Regions from separate parts of the Homo sapiens genome. Here regions 1 and 2 are each linked to region 3. Evidence: promoter capture Hi-C in human tissues and cell types (Jung and others, 2019). All regions are on one chromosome and are shown on one strand. The core of a region is centred on a gene start or on the middle of the fragment in contact, and the rest is flanking DNA. Distances in the headings are between cores, read along the strand shown. Region 1 overlaps SMC1A (structural maintenance of chromosomes 1A). Region 2 has its middle 35 kb from the start of HSD17B10. Region 3 holds the start of HSD17B10 (hydroxysteroid 17-beta dehydrogenase 10).

The links. The method cuts DNA at HindIII sites, captures the fragments that hold promoters and counts their contacts. A contact is called where the count stands out against the background at its distance.
Region 1: a fragment that was not itself captured here is called in contact with the fragment with the promoter of HSD17B10 in region 3 in 2 of the 25 tissues and cell types used here (adrenal gland and lymphoblastoid cells).
Region 2: a fragment that was not itself captured here is called in contact with the fragment with the promoter of HSD17B10 in region 3 in 1 of the 25 tissues and cell types used here (adrenal gland).

Annotation. Positions count from the first base shown.
Region 1 is chrX:53,393,305-53,396,004 of GRCh38, reverse strand. It overlaps SMC1A (structural maintenance of chromosomes 1A), which reads left to right. Exons shown (of 25, transcript NM_006306.4): 19 at 1,117-1,227. Among named protein-coding and RNA genes, the nearest start is that of MIR6857, 11 kb to the left of the region's middle. The HindIII fragment of the contact is 5,879 bases long and covers 1-2,700 here.
Region 2 is chrX:53,468,449-53,471,148 of GRCh38, reverse strand. No RefSeq gene overlaps it. Among named protein-coding and RNA genes, the nearest start is that of HSD17B10, 35 kb to the right of the region's middle. The HindIII fragment of the contact is 9,397 bases long and covers 1-2,700 here.
Region 3 is chrX:53,433,071-53,435,770 of GRCh38, reverse strand. It overlaps HSD17B10 (hydroxysteroid 17-beta dehydrogenase 10), which reads left to right and starts at 1,401. Exons shown (of 6, transcript NM_004493.3): 1 at 1,401-1,452; 2 at 1,885-2,049. The coding sequence starts at 1,426. The HindIII fragment of the contact is 21,717 bases long and covers 1-2,700 here.

The sequences.
Region 1 (2,700 bases), core at 105-2,604, 40 kb after region 3:
TAAAGCTGCAAGCCAGTGAGTGGGTGGTGAGAGAGTTGAGCCAGGAAAGAATGAAGTAATTCATTAACCTTAGGGACCTGAGCTATATTAGCTCCAGCAGGTGACAGAAATTGGTAGGAGTGGGAATTGAGGGACATTAGCCAAGAGCAAAGGAAGACAGAAAGCTAGGGGACCTGAGGGTGATAGCTTAGCTGCAGTGAGGAAGATTGGCCAGGAGAGGGTTAGGTAAGGGACATCAGCAATGCAGAGGTGAGGAAGTTTAGTTATAGGAAAACCAGAGATACTAGCCAAAGAGGAGCAGTGGAAGCAAAGATTTGTAGCAAGGGGATGGGAAATGTTAACTGAGAGGAGGTTTGCATATATTAATATCTTGTCTTAGACCTGGTTATATATCTCAGTCCCATGTATCTTTCTCCCTCCTCACTTTCCAAATGGCATTTCAGTTTAATTCAGTAAAATATTTTGAATACCAGAAATGTTCTGGGCATCATGGTAGCATGTGACATAATTACCCCAATCCTAACCACAGACCTGCCAGACAGGCATTATCCCCACATTACAGGTGAAGAGACTCAGGATCTGAGAATGTGACTTGCCCAAAATCACAATGTTAGTAAGTGTAGACCTCAAATTTTTTTTATTTATTTTTATTTTTATTTTTTGAGACAGAGTCTTGTTTTGTCACCCAGGCTGAAGTGCAGTGGCGTGATCTTGGCTCACTGCAGCCTCCGCCTCCCAGTTTCAAGTGATTCTTGTGCCTCAGTCTCCCATGTAGCTGGGATTACAGGCATGCACCACCACTCCTGGCTAATTTTTGTGTTTTTAGTAGAGACAGAGTTTCATTATGTTGGCCAGGCTGGTCTCAAACTCCTGACCTGAAGTGATTCACCTGCCTTGGCCTCCCAAAGTGCTGGGATTATAGGCGCAAGCCACTGCACCTGGCCATAGAGCTCAATTTTGAACTTGAGTCATTCTGCCTGCAAAGCCTCTGTTCCTTCTGCCATGGTGCTTTCTAGCAAGGTGCTTTCTCAAAGATTGAAGGCTGCAAAGGAGCTCCCTATAGAGGTGCACTCTCATGGCCAGTCTGCTCCACTTGACTCTCCGTTGCCATTGCAGGGTAGCTCCCAGGGGGAGGACTCAGTGAGTGGTTCACAGAGAATTTCCAGTATCTATGCACGAGAGGCCCTCATTGAGATTGACTACGGTGATCTGTGTGAGGATCTGAAGGTGAGGATCAACCACAGGGGTGTGGTGGGGGTGGGGGTTGGGTGGGAGTGGGACTATCTTCCTAGTTGTCCAGAGAGGAGGTCAGCCCATCTGGGGGCTCTGTGAAGACCATGGCTGGAAAGAGGGGAAAGCTGGCAAGGGTGGGAGGATTCAGTTGTGAGGCAGGATCTCCACCTCATATATTCAAACAGACATATGCACATTCCCTACCCCATACCCCAAGTTGCCCCTGCCCTTGCCTGCTATCAGTCTTCCCCTTCCATGTGTGTATATAACTAAGCTAAGCCTAGGTCCACACAGAGAAGAGACTTCAGTACAGTGAACAGATTGACCTCAGGTGTTCCTCAGGGCTCTTTCCTCCTCACTTGGCATTCTTTCATCCTGGATATCACTTTACTTCCGTGGCTTCCGCTGCAATCTCTATGCTAGGTCCCACAGGTACCTCAAGCCCTAGCCTTCCTCCCCATATTTACCCATCTCCTCAGTGCCACTCACATGCTCAGCCAGAAATTTGAGCCTCATCCTTGACTTCTCCCTCTTTCACTTTACATAATCAATTAATTACCAAGCACCAAGCCCTATGGATTCTGCCTCCTAAATATCTTTTTTTTTTTTTTTTTTTTTTGAGACGGAGTTTCACTCTTGTTGCCCAGGCTGGAGTGCAGTGGCATGATCTCGACTCACTGCTGCAACCTCTGCCTCCCAGGTTCAAGCGATTCTCCTGCCTCAGCCTCCCAAGTAGCTGAGATTACAGGTGCCCGCCATCATGCCCAGCTAATTTTTAGTAGAGGCGGGGTTCTACCATGTTGGTCAGGCTGGTCTTGAACTCCTGACCTCAGGTGATCTGCCTACCTTGGCCTCCCAAAGTGCTGAGATTACAGGTGTGAGCCACTGTGCCCGGCCCTAAATATCTATTGAATTCTGGTTTTTGTTTCCACTGTCTAATGCAGGCCACTTTCATCTCACATAGCCAACTACAGGAGCCTCCTAAATAGTTTATGATGTGTTTCAATCATCATTATATTCAGGAGGATTTGATTTTTTTAACTTATGGAAAATTTCAAGCATATGGAAGTAAAGAGAATGATAATAATGAACCTCAGGCACTCAGCTTCAACAGTTAAGCAATCTTATTTTTTATACCCCCCATTGGAGTATTTTAAAGAAAACTAGACATTACTCCATCCATAATTACCTCAGCATGTATCTCTAGAATATGAGAACTTTTAAGAAAAACAACCATAATATTATATCTGAAAATATTTAACAATAACTCCACAATATCATCTAATCAGTAAATGTTTAGATTTCCATGAAAGTCCCATAATATTTTTTTATTTTTATTTTTTTTGCAGTTTATGTGTTTAGATCAATATTCCAGTAAGGTCCATATGTTAAAATTGGTCTCTGCTAGTCTATAACATTTTCTTCTTCGTTTTTATTTTATTTTTTTCCTTCGTATTTATCTATGGA
Region 2 (2,700 bases), core at 22-2,521, 36 kb before region 3:
AAACAAAAACAACCAGATTTTTTTAATGAGCAGAGGACTTGAATGGATATATCTCCAAAGAAGATATACAAATGGCTAAGAAGCACATGAAAAGATGCTCAACATCACTAGTCAGTAGGGCAATGCAAATCAAAACCACAGTGAAATACCACTTCATCACCACTTGGATGGCTATAATCAGCAAAACAGAAAATAAGTGTTGGCAAGGATGTGGAGAAACTGGGACCCTCATACATTGCTGGTGGGAATACAAAATGGTTCAGCCACTGTGGAAACAGTTGGGCAGTTCCTCTAAAAGGTAACCATAGAGGCCGGGCGCAGTGGCTCACACCTGTAATTCCAGCACTTTGGGAGGCCGAGGCGGGCGGATCACGAAGTCAGGAGATCAAGACCATCCTGGCTAACATGGTGAAATCCCGTCTCTACTAAAAATACAAAAAACTAGCCGGGCGTGGTGACATGTGCCTGTAGTCCCAGCTACTCGGGAGGCTGAGGCAAGAGAATCGCTTGAACCCAGGAGGCGGAGGTTGCAGTGAGCCGAGATCGCACCACTGCACTCCAGCCTGGGCGACAGAGCGAGACTCCGTCTCAAAAAAAAAAGATAAAGAGAATCATCATCTTGTAGCAGGATGAGCCGCATACAAAACTCCTCAGACACCGGATTAAAGAAGGAAGAGGTTTTTATTCGTCTGGGAGCGTCGGCAGACTCGCGTCTTAAGAGCCGAGCTCCCCGAAAAAGAAATTCATAGCCCTTTTAAGGGCTTACAACTCTAAGGGGTCCACGTAAAAGGGTCATGATAGATCAAGTAAGCGTGAGGAACGTGACTGGGGGCTACATACATCAGCTAACAGAACAAAAAGTTTTACAGTGCTTTCTCATACAATGTCTGGAATTTACAGATAACACCAGTAATTTTGGTCAGGGGTTAATATTATTATTATTATTTTAACCACCAGGGCCAGGTGGTGGCGCCAAGGTCGTCTAGCTATTTATCTTACTTCTGTTTCTTTCCAACTTTTTGCTTTCTCCCTTTTCTCATGTCTTATAAACTAGGGAAAAGGGAAGGTGGGGGAGAAGCTGGGAAGGACAACAGGAGAAGTGTTGGTCTCGTTCCAATATGATCTAGCAATTCCACTCCTAAATATATACCCAAAAGAACTGAAAACTGATACTCAAGCACATCTAACACATGTTCATAGCAGCGGCATTCACAACAGCCAAAAGGTGGAACCAGTCCAAATGTCCATCAACAGATGAATGGCTAAACAAATTGTGGTACAGTTTGAGTATCCCTTATCCAAAATGCTTGGGACCAGAAGTGTTTTACATTTTGGATTTTTTTTGATTTGGGAATATTTATACATACATAATGAGATATCTTGGGGTGGAACCCAAGTCTAAATATGAAATTCATTTATGTTTTACATTCACCTTATACACATAGCCTGAAGGTAATTTTATACAATATATATGTATGTGTGTGTGTGTATGTATGTATTTCTTTTTTGAGATATGGTCTTGCTCTGTCACCCAGGCTGGTGTGCAGTAACGTGTTCTCAGCTCACTGCAGCCTCAACTTCACAGGCTCAAGCAATCCTCCCACCTCAGCCTCCCGAGTAGCTGGGACAACAGGCATGCACCACCACATTCAGCTAATTTTTGTATTTTTTATAGAGACAGGGTTTTGCCATGTTGCCCAGGCTGGTCTTCACCTCCTGAGCTCAAGTGATCCACTCACCTTCGCCTCCCAAAGTGCTGGGCCAGGTGCAGTGGCTCATGCCTGTAATCCCAGCACTTTGGGAGGCTGAGGCAGGTGGATCACCTGAGGTCAGGAGTTCAAGACCAGTCTGGCCAACATGGTGAAGCCCTGTCTCTACTAAAAATACAAAAATTTGCTGGATGTGGTGGTGCATGCCTGTGATCCCAGCTACTTGGGAGGCTGAGGCAGGAGAATTGCTTGAACCTGGGAGGCAGAGGTTGCCATGAGCCGAGATCAGGCACTCCAGCCTGGGTGACAGCAAGAATCTGTCTCAAAAAAAAAAAAAAAAATACAGTGCTGGATGACAGGCATGAGCCATCGCGCCTGGCCAATTTTATACAATATTTTAAATAATTCTGTGCATGAAACAAAGTTTGTGTTAAGTACTTATTTGTGGAATTTTCCACTGTGGCATCATTTCGGATCTGAAAACATTTTGGATTTTGAATTTTCAGATAAGGGATGCTCAACTTGTATATACATACAATGGAATATTATTCAGCCATGAAAAGGAATAAGGTGTATGCTACATGATGCCAAAGATCAATAAAGCCAGATATTAGTTAACAGTGGTGAAACCTGGCCCAGTGCGGTGGCTCACGCTTGTAATCCCAGCACTTTGGGAGGCCAAGGTGGGCAGATTGCTTGAGGCCAGGAGTTTGAGACCAGCCTAGTCAACATAGCAAAACCCTGTCTCTACTAAAACTACAAAAATTAGCCAGGCATGGTAGCGCACACTTGTAGTTCCAGCTACTCAGGAGGCTGAGGTAGGAGAATCGCTTGAACCCAGGAGGCAGAGGTTGCAGTGAGCTGAGATTGCTCCACTGCACTCCAGCTCGGGTGACAAGGGCAAGACTCCGTCTGAAAAAAAAAAAAAGTCACATATCGTATGATCCCTGAATAGGTAAATCCATAAAGACTGAACACACATGAATGATTG
Region 3 (2,700 bases), core at 152-2,651:
ATGCAAGTGCTATGAAGATAATTCAAATATGCAATGGGATAGTGTCTAGGTGGCTACAGTTTGAATATTTAGGGAGGACCCCTCTGGGAAGGTGATATTTAAGCTTAGTTCTGAATGAAAAAAAATAAAAGCAGTCATGCAAAGATCAGGGGAGAGCATTCCAAGCAGAGGGAGCAGCTAATGCAAAGATGAACACAAAGGAGGCCACTGTGGCTACAGCATATTGGGCCGGATGAAGAGTGCTATAAATTGATGGAAGCACTTCATGTAGATAGGAAAATTGTGAGACCGGTGTGCTAAATCCTTTGGTAAATACGGTGTAGTGATTATGAGTGTGGTGGCTGTCAACAACTAGAAGGCCTGGAGGGGAATCTTCCTGGGTGAGAAAGCAAGTGGGGGGAGATATTTCAGATAGAGAAAACATAAAGCAGTTCTGAGGCTGAAATGGTGGGCTAAGATTTATGGCCTGAAGACCTTGGTTTGAGGAAAAGTATAGAAGGAAGACAGATTAGATATCTGGGCTCAAGACTCTAATGACATAGCTTCTGGAAGCTGCCTGAAAGATGTTCTAGGATGACAAAGACCTGGGTCTTAAATAATAGTCTCTGGTTGAAGTCCAATCTGCAGTGTGTGATCTGGGCTTTTGGACTTAAATTAGACAAAGATAGAGGAGAGTAGCAAAGCCTGAACTGATGAAAGATGTTTTTGCCTCTTTAGGTTTGTGCTTCTCAGCAGCTGTCCTAGAATGTCTGTCTCCAAGCATCTCTCTTAGCGGCTTTCCACATTCATCTCTCTGTGATCCTACCTGGCATCTCTCTTCCTATCTCGGCCTCAACATATTTCTCTTTACATGGCTCTCTCTCTCTCTAACTCAGACTCCTCATCTTTGGATCTCCTTGTCTGAGTGTCCCAGAATCTGGTTCCGTCCATTCGTCTGTGTCTGTACTGTAATTCTCTTTCTCCACCTGGACTGTGCCCTCCTGGAAGGCATGAATCTTTTATTATTCCGCTGGGTATCCCAGGTGCCCCGCACACCGTCTAGCATATAGGAGTCTCAAATACATTCATACTTGAATTAAGACTTTTTCAGAGGAGAAAGGCATCCGTTCTCAATATCCACCCCTCTTCCCCCACGCGGAGCAGGCCACTTGCCAAAAGGCCAGCTAGAGAGTAGGGCGAGGGGTGTTGTGGTATTGTACTTCTGCTATTGGTCTCTTTCCCCAGTTGAAATAACTCTGGGGATACCTTAGCAGGCGGAATCCGCCCTCTGGCCAAAGGACTAGCGTACCAGGCCACGCCCCCACGTCTCATGCGGCAGCGGCAGACGCCCCGGCCCGTCGCATCCGCCCCTTCCGCCGCTTCGCCTCGGCCAATCAACGAGCGCCCGCGCCCCCATCCCCATCCCGTGGAGTGGCCGGCGACAAGATGGCAGCAGCGTGTCGGAGCGTGAAGGTAGAAGGTTCTTTGCCTCTGTTGCTTGCCTTCCTTTACGGGCCGGGACAGCGCGGCCGTGGAACTAGGAGAAAGAGATCGGTTTCGAGGGAAAGGGTCATGCTTATGTAGGCCTGGTATTGTGGCCGTTGGGCTCAAGAGGTGAAAGTCAGCACTCCGCGGCGCATCTGTCTGTCTGTCTGTCTGTCTATCTATCTATCTATCAATCATCTATCTATCTATCGTCACGGGACGGGCTGTCTGGGGATGAGATCCCTTCTGCCCCCGAGGTCCCAACGCTGAGGAGAAGCAGCACACCTAGTTTACCCGCAGGGGTGACCACGACCTCTCCCCTCCCCCCTTCTCCTCAGAAGCCTGGAGAACAGGCAGGCGACAGCGTGGGGATGGTCTGGGCAATGTAACAGCTGACCCTGACCATGTCCCTTTTGACAGGGCCTGGTGGCGGTAATAACCGGAGGAGCCTCGGGCCTGGGCCTGGCCACGGCGGAGCGACTTGTGGGGCAGGGAGCCTCTGCTGTGCTTCTGGACCTGCCCAACTCGGGTGGGGAGGCCCAAGCCAAGAAGTTAGGAAACAACTGCGTTTTCGCCCCAGCCGACGTAAGTGGGGTCACCTCTCCTCTCCCAGGGTGTGCATGAGGTCACCAACACCGGCCTGGGAACCTGTGGGGGTCCCTCCCATAAGGGTCTCCTCTATGGGGGCGGTAGACCCATCTCCTTGTCTCTTTTGGCCTGAGCCTTCAAGCACTGTGGGACCACCTGTGATAAGGATTCTCTAAAGCTGGGATTCACAACAATGAGGATGGGGATTGGACGTAACAATCTCCTGGAGGAGTTATGTATGGTTTGAAAATGCATTTTGTGCCTTGTAATTTTATATTTACAAAGTCAAAAAACTTGTTTTCATGAAACAAACTACAGAAAGTGAAACTTGATGAAATCATCTTAGCAGGTAAGGATACAAAAAAGCTAGTTTATCTTCCTATCAATAATTCTCACAAGAGGGTTATTTTTTATTTTTATTTTTGAGATGGAGTCTCGCTCTGTTGCCCAGGCTGGAGTGCAGTGGCACAATCTCAGCTCCTTGCAACCTCCATCTTCTGGGTTCAAGCGATTTTCCTGCCTCAACCTCCCAAGTAGCTGGGATTACAGGCACCTGCCACCACGCCCAGCTAATTTTTTTTTTTGTATTTTTAGAAGAGATGGGGTTTCACCATGTTGGCCGGGCTGGTCTTGAACTCCTGATCTCAC